Linked DNA regions of Homo sapiens: region 2 is linked to region 1. Evidence: promoter capture Hi-C in human tissues and cell types (Jung and others, 2019). All regions are on one chromosome and are shown on one strand. The core of a region is centred on a gene start or on the middle of the fragment in contact, and the rest is flanking DNA. Distances in the headings are between cores, read along the strand shown. Region 1 holds the start of IL31RA (interleukin 31 receptor A). Region 2 has its middle 13 kb from the start of GPBP1.

Evidence for each region. The method cuts DNA at HindIII sites, captures the fragments that hold promoters and counts their contacts. A contact is called where the count stands out against the background at its distance.
Region 2: a fragment that was not itself captured here is called in contact with the fragment with the promoter of IL31RA in region 1 in 1 of the 25 tissues and cell types used here (pancreas).

The regions. Positions count from the first base shown.
Region 1 is chr5:55,849,781-55,853,654 of GRCh38, reverse strand. IL31RA (interleukin 31 receptor A) reads right to left here and starts at 2,298. Exons shown (of 15, transcript NM_139017.7): 1 at 2,022-2,298. The coding sequence starts at 2,084. The HindIII fragment of the contact is 16,782 bases long and covers 1-3,874 here.
Region 2 is chr5:57,159,059-57,163,561 of GRCh38, reverse strand. No RefSeq gene overlaps it. Among named protein-coding and RNA genes, the nearest start is that of GPBP1, 13 kb to the left of the region's middle. The HindIII fragment of the contact is 4,747 bases long and covers 790-4,503 here.

The sequences.
Region 1 (3,874 bases), core at 1,049-3,548:
AATTTCACTGAAGAAAACAGAAAAAGACTTTTATAAAGTAGAAAAAGATGATCAAACTATCACTCTTCTAAATGAATTAGCACTCACCTTCATGTATCAGGGGATGTTCCACAGATGTTCTGCTGGCTCAAAGGATTTGCATCAAAGGCAACTCCACCTCCCACAGCACAAGTCAGGACAGGAAGAACAATCTGGACTTTAATTTATCCACACTAAGATGTGGGAGTGTTTCCACTCTGATTGTCTGCGAGCTTTTCTTGTGCTTTTAAGCCCAGCCCAAGTCAAAGTGGCACTTACCCACTTATGCTGGGAAATGGATTGCATTATTGTTAACTAAAAACAAAAGCAAAAACAAAAACACTCAACTCTACAAAAAAAAAGGATCATCTGAAAGACCAGAAACAACTAAAAGAAGTGACTAACTTTTAAATTTTCTCTTCAGGAAGTCCTTACAAATGTGGTAATAGCTGAAACAGTGAGAGTATCTTTAGCTTGAAATGAGAAATACGCAATCATGTTAACTGTCTTTAGACAATGAAGGAGATGAAGGAAAGAAAATAATGGTAGCTGACTCCAAAAAGAGGCTTACAAATTCTTATTTACGTCTAAAGGAAAACATACTGAACTGAGAAACCAGAGCTTCAGTTTAGCCACTAGTAATAATCATCATTAATAATTTGTGGAGCTCTTACTGTGTGTCAGGCATAGTACTAAGAACTTCACATTAATTATCTCTTTTAATCTTCACAACAATCCTATAACATCAGGAGTATTTTTATTCCCACTTTATAGGCAAGGAAACTGAGGTCAAAACAGTAAGCAACATGTCCTACATGGGTGGTGGAGCCAAGACTTGAACCAAGGCAGCCTGACTCTCAGTTTCCTAGCAATCAAAGGTTCAAATTAGATTATTTCTAGGATCCCTTCTAGTACCACAATTTTGCAACCGTTTGTAATGGACTGACAAAACCACGAGAAATAAATAGACCGGGGAAGAGATTATGATGCAAAAGGAAAGAAAACTAAGTTTTAAAACAAGCTATGCTTTCCAGCCCCACATTTTAATTTTTAACCCATTCCCCATCTTCCTTAGGCAATGTTCCACTAAGTAGGAGGAATAAGGGTGAGAAAGAGAGCTAGTCTTTTACCTAGAAGATTATAATTATGAGATATTTAAAATTCCAGCCAGGCGTGGTGGCTCACGCCTGTAATCCCAGCACTTTGGGAGGCTGAGGCAGGTGGATCACCTGATGTCAGGAGTTTGAGACCAGCCTGACCAACATGGCAAAACCCCATCTCTACTAAAAATACAAAAAAATTAGTCAGGCATGGTGGCAGGCACCTGTAATCCCAGCTACTCGGGAGGCTGAGGCAGGAGAATCGCTTGAACCCGGGAGGCAGAGGTTGCAGTGAGCCAAGATCGTGCCATTGTACTCCAACCTGGCGACAAGAGTGAAACTCTGTCTCAAAAAATAAATAAAATAAAATAAAATAAAATTCCATTATAATATACTATAGAGAAAAGCTAAATGCTAGCACAAAAATAGCAAGCATTTCTTGAATTTATTCAACCAATACTTAGTAAACACCTATTACATGCATAACAGCTCACTAAAGGTGTTGTGTATTAAATAGAATTCTGGTTAAGACAAGACCAATTGAGCATATACATTTATCTCTACTCTCTCAGGAAACTCCACAAAAATTATGGCAAAGATATAGAACCACAAGACAAAACAAATGGGAAGAGGCAACAGCAAATAAGAGATGTCAACAAATCTTTGGAAAAAGAGAAATGAATCAAGCCATAACTGAACTGGTAAAGATGAGAAAGCAGAAACCTAGAAATGCCTAATAAGGTTGCCAACAATAAGCAAACATAATTATGCCACGGAATCTCATACGGCTCAGGATTTGAGACACTAGGTAGGTAAAATCAACCCTCATTACTCACAGCTTCCTTATTTGTGAATTCACCTACTTGCTAGGAATTATTTGTAACCCCCCAAATCAATACTCACAATGTTTTGCGGACATTCACAGACACATGCCGTGGTGAAAAACTTGAGTTGCCTGATGCACATTCCCAGCTGAGGTGGAACAAGCTGACACTCTGCCTTCCTGTCTCAATTTTCATACTGCACACACATGTCTTTTCATGGTCTATTTAGTGCCATGCTGGTTATTACTATTTTTTTTTGCAATTTTTTGCCTTTTATGAGTGATTTTGCTGTTTCGAATGCCCCCCAAGCAGAGTGCTGGAGTGCTGTCTGGTGTTCCTAAGCAGAAGGAGGCTGTGCCTCATGGAGAAAATATGTGTGTTAAATAAGCTCTATTCAGGCATGAGTCATAGTACTGTTATTAGCCATGAGTTCAATGTTGATGAATCAACAATGTATATTAAATAAGGTGTCTTTAAACAGAAACACACACAAAACAAGGTTATGTATTGATTAGCTGACAAAAATGTTGTGACCAGAGGCTCACAGGCACCTAACTCTATATTTCCCCCACAGAGAATAATTCAGTATTTTCTTTTTTTCTTTTTTTTTTTCTTCTGAGACAGAGTTTCGCTCTTGTTGCTTAGGCTGGAGTGCAATTGCGCCATCTCAGCTCACCGCAACCTCCACCTCCCGGGTTGAAGTGATTCTCCTGCCTCAGGCCAGCCTCCCATGTAGCTGGGATTACAGGCATGCGCCACCAAGCCCAGCTGATTTTGTATTTTTAGTAGAGACGGGGTTTCTCCATGTTGTTCAGGCTGGTCTCAAACTCCTGACCTCAGGTGATCCACCTGCCTCGGCCTCCCAAAGTGCTGGGATTACAGGCATGAGCCACCACGCTCAGCAGTATTTTCTAATTCAGTGTTTGTGGCGATTTTATTGAACATAATTGCCAGGAATAATGAAGGAATAATGAGAATTGACTATACCTCTGAAACAAAAATCATAAGATTGGTTGAAAATCTGAAAAAGAAATAGACTACCTAATCCTAACCCCACAAAGCCAAATTCATTAAATTTCTCCCATCCCAACAGCAGATGGGGGGAAAAAACTTGAAAGAAAGGCAATGCAGAAAGCAGAATATTTTTTAAAAGAAATATTAGTTAAACCTTCATAGAAAATAAGAAAAAATGTTGTACCCACAAAATATGAATAGGATGCTATGATAAAGGCATAATTAGAGAACAAGAACTCTTGGAGATTCAAAATATGAGAGCTGAAGTCTAAAGACTAGAAAATAAAGTTGAGGAAATCTTCCAGAAGATAGAAGAAAAGACAAAGAGATGAAGAATAGCCAACATCTGACTACCAGCAGTACAGAAGCACAGAACAGAGGAATGGAGGGAAAGAAATAATGAGAGAAGTGATACAATAAAATTCCCAAGAATTGAGGAACATTTGTTTCCAGATTGAAAGGGCCCACTGTAAACAGCATAATAAATGAAAATAAATCTACACTGAAGTACAAAACAGTGAAGTTTCAGAATATCAAGAATAAACAGAAAAAAAATGTTTCCAGATAGGAAAAAAATAAGTCACATACAAAGGATCAAGGATGAGAATGGCTTTAGACTTAATAACAAAACCAGAAGTTAGAAAGCAATGGATCAATTCCTTTATAACTCTATTGGAAAATTATTTCTCACCTAGGATGCTCTACCCATCCAAATGATCCATCAGAAAGAAAGGTAAAACAACGTTCTTGAAACTGCATTTTCCAACATGCCAAGTTTCAAGAACTTTATCTCCCATGTGACCATTTTCGAGATGTTATTGAAAAAAGTGACTACAAAAACAAGAGCATAAGCCAAAACAAAAAGGAAAAATGGGCTCCCAAAAACAGCAAATTTCAAATAGAAGAGAGAGAATTCCA
Region 2 (4,503 bases), core at 1,914-4,413, 1.3 Mb before region 1:
CCATCTCTTACAAGCTTTTAAGTCACAGCCTAAATGTCACTTTTATAGACAGCTGTATTGACTACCTACCTAGTTCCCCTACTCTCCCTTATTGCACTGATCATACTTATAAATTAAGGTTATTAATAATTTATAAGTTTATTTAGCTGGGCATGGTGGCTCACGCCTGTAACCCAGCACTTTGGGAGGTCAAGGCAGGAGGATTGCTTGAGGCCAGGAGTAGAGACCAGCTTGGCCAACATAGCAACGCTGTGTCTCCAAAAAAAAAAAATTTTTGCCGAGCTCAGTGTCTCACACCTGTAATCCCAGCACTTTGAGAGGCCGAGGCAGGCAGATCACCAGAGGTCAGGAGTTCAAGACCAGCCTGACCAACATGATGAAACCCTGTGTCTACTAAAAATACAAAATTTAGCTGGGTGTGGTTCTGGGTGCCTGTAATCCCAGCTACTCTGGAGACTGAGGCAGGAGAATTGCTTGAACCTGGGAGGCGGATCAAGCCATTGCACTCCAGCCTGGGCAACAAGAGGAAGCTCTGCCTTAAAAAAATAAAAAATAAAAAATAAGATTATTTATTTAATATCTGCCTCACCCACTGCACTCTAGGTTTCATGGGGAATTCAATGAGTGAATAAATGAATGAGCAGAGAGTGGTGGAGCAACATAAACAGATTCAAGAATAGGATATAGAACTCAGAAAATGTGATGTTTCAATGTTTGTGAAGACAAGGCAGAAAAAAGTCAGCGATGACACCCAGTTTCTAATTTAGGCACTTGGTTGGCTGTTAATGGCATTCCCTGAGTTAACTGAGGCCCAAAAACAAGTTAGGTGGAAGATGGAAATCATGAGTTCAGTTTGGGACATTGCGATATTATGAAATACATATTTGGGCCTGGCGCGGTGGCTCACGCCTGTAATCCCAGCACTTTGGGAGGCCAAGGCGGGCGGATCACGAGGTCAGGAGATCGAGACCATCCTGGCTAACACGGTGAAACCCCGTCTCTACAAAAAATACAGAAAAAATTAGCTGGGCGTGGTGGCGGGCACCTGTAGTCCCAGCTTCTCGGGAGGCTGAGGCAGGAGAATGGCGTGAACCTGGGAGGTGGAGCTTGCAGTCAGCCGAGATAGTGCCACTGCACTCCAGCCTGGGCAACAAAGCAAGACTCCATCTCAAAACAAAAAAAAAAAAAAAGGATAATATACCATCTTCGACCGGGCATGTTGGCTCACTCCTGTTATCACAGCACTTTGGGAGGCTGAGGAGGGTGGATCACGAGGTCAAGAGTTCGAGACCAGCCTGGCCAGCATGGTGAAATCCCATCTCTACTAAAAATACAAAAAATTAGCCAGACATGGTGGCACACACCTGTAATCCCAGCTACTCGGGAGGCTGAGGCAGGAGAATTGCTTGAACCGGGGAGGCAGATGTTGCAGTGAGCTGAGATTGCACCACTGCACTCCAGCCTGGGCCACAGAGTAAAACTCCATCTCAAAAAAAAAAAAAGAAAAAAAAGAAAAAATTCCATCTTCATGGCCACAGTGTCAATTTGAGGATGTGACTCAAGCTTGACCAATTATAACCTTGTGTAGGACTTTGCCAGAGATGCTCTCATAAAGACATTCTCTTTCTACTGGGGTTACTAAAACTGAGAGGTTGTAAATGTGGGATCACCAGTCGACAAAATCTGGGATTTCTATTGTCTGCCATGTAGCTCTCAGAAACAAAAATAATCAGAGCATTGACATATTTTTTAGTCTTTGAATGTAGTCCTTCCTTCCTGAAGCAGTGATCATCTCTGAACTTCACAGTAATGGAAGTAAATACATTTTCTTTACTTCTTTACTAGTTTGTATTGGGTTTCTGTCATTTTCATCCTAAGGAGCACCTATGAATTCAGGGCCCTTGTCCTGTAAGTTGACTGATACAATGCAGTGTTTTCTTTCATCCATGATCTCCAAAGTCTATTGAGGAAGACCTTCAGCTTTTGGTAAAGAAACTGGCCATCTGAAACAACCTATAAGGTAAGTGTAACAATTCTGGTGTTTTTCTTTTTGTGTCAACAGCATGGCTAGCCCAAAGAAGAATCAGAATCACTGGCTCTGTCTATAAATAAGTTTCCCTTAAAAGCAGGATCCTTTTTGTGGAATATAATTGAAAAGGAAGCAATTTATCCTATCCAATTTTCCTCTATCACCCAAAGCAGAAGCTCTTTTCACGTCAGCATAATGAAAGGCAATCTGAGGAAGACTCTGGGAAGTCTCCTTGCAGTTAGCATTCTTTTCTACTGCAAAAGGTGAATCCAGCCAAACTTCTAGAAGTGTAAAATGAATGGGTGAAAAAAGACAATTTGAGGAAAAAAAGTTGGTGTATCAAAGGTTAAGAGAAAAGTAGAATTGGAATGAAAAAGTAAAATTGGAGGATGAGAAAAAGAAAATGAAAACAGAAAAATTACTTAAAATTTTCTGTGTTGTTTTTTGCTTTAACTTACAAGCAGAAAACTTAGTTACTAATGGCATAGTAATTCATCCATTAAACAGTTAGTCATATACAACCTACTCTGACTTAGGGACTGGGCTAAATGCTGAGGATGCAACAAGGAGCAAGATACCCATGGCCTCATCTCTGTTTATAGAAGTCAAAATTTGGTTCTAAGTAGGAAATAAATGAATCTCAAACACACACTGTATTAGTGTGGTGATGCTCTCCCCACTAGCCAAATGCCCTGGGCAATGGGCAAGGGGAGGCTAGAGCTTAGCCCCTTCTCAAGCTAAGCCTCCTGTTTATTATTATTATTGTTGTTGTTGTTGTTGTTGTTGTTGTTGTTGTTGTTTTTGAGATGGAGTCTCGCTGTGTCGCCCAGGCTGGAGTGCAGTGGCGCGATCTCGGCTCACTGCAAGCTCCGCCTCCCGGGTTCACGCCATTCTCCTGCCTCAGCCTCCCGAGTAGCTGGGACTATAGGCGCCCGCCACCCCGCCCGGCTAATTTTTTGTATTTTTCGTAGAGACGGGGTTTCACCGTGTTAGCCAGGATGGTCTCGATTTCCTGACCTCGTGATCCTCCCGCCTCGGCCTCCCAAAGTGCTGGGATTACAGGCGTGAGCCACCGTGCCCCGCCAAGCCTCCTGTTTAAAGGGCTTTAGAAGAACAAGTGAGCTAGGTTCACATTTTCCCCTGAAGCTTGGAAGCCACACAGCACCTGACTCAGCAAGGCTGTATTGACCTGCTTTTCTGACAAAAGAGCTAAGAGAGGGGACTGTGTTGGGAACGGTCTGCACCCAGTGGTTGGTGGGGCAGAGGATGCGTGAGTTATTCATAAGCCAAAGCCAAATATGGACTGGGGTAAGGGAGCTGGATTTGCACCAAGAAGACCACTTGTAAGGATGTGGTGACTCCAGCAGAGAGGTGGGTCACTGGAAACTCCTGGAAACCAGGGGCCAAGGGAAGACCACACATGGCCAGCTGGAGGAATCATTGCTTTACATAAAAAACAGTTTTTTTGTTTTTTTGTTTGTTTTTGAGACGGAGTTTTGCTCTTGTTGCCCAGGCTGGAGTGCAATGGCGTGATCTCGACTCACCGCAACCCCTGTCTCCCACGTTCAAGCTATTCTCCTGCCTCAGCCTCCTGAGTAGGTGGGACTACAGGCATGCGCTAGCATGCCCAGCTAATTTTTGTATTTTTAGTAGACATGGGGCTTCACCATGTTGGCCAGGATAGTCTCAATCTCTTGACCTCGTGATCTGCCCACCTTGGGCTCCCAAAGTGCTGGGATTACAGGTAAGCCACTGCGCCGGCCTAAAAAAAGGTTTTTAACATTAGAAATTCTCAAAGTGGTTGGGTGTGGTGTCCTACACCCGGGACACCACAGCTACTTGGGAGGTTGAGGCAGGAATATCCCTTGAGCTCAGGAATTCGAGGCTGTAGAGCACCAGGATCCCATCTATGAATAGCCACTACACTCCAGCCTGGGTAACATAGTGAGACTTTATCTCTACAAAGAAATTCTCAAAGTGGGAGAGTATCTAGAGAAACTCTCTATGGGAAAAAACCAGCATTTAACATCCGTTCAATCTAGAGGACACCAATACCAGATTATAACTGTATAAGACCTTTCTGTTCTTTATTTCTGCTTCCTCCCTTCCAAACAATAAAACATGAAATATATTTGAGCTTGACGGAAGGAGAACTTGAATTGGTGACAGTTTGGAATGTGGACTATTCAACTGGACTGGCCTTTTTCTTGTCTAAAATTGACAGTAAAAAAACTACAAAACATGCTTAAGATTTTGTCCTGGGACAGACAAGAACCATTGTAGAGAAAGGATTTAAATGTACAAACTGAGAAAGAGTGAAATAGTTTTCTGTTATCAAACTATTTACATGCCTTCCTTCATTACCCCATCTTCCAACTATCCCCAAGAGTGGGCTCACTTGCATATAATAAAGCACAGACTGTTTATGCAAAGGTTTCTGCTTACGTGTAGATGGGATTGTTACTAATTTTCAT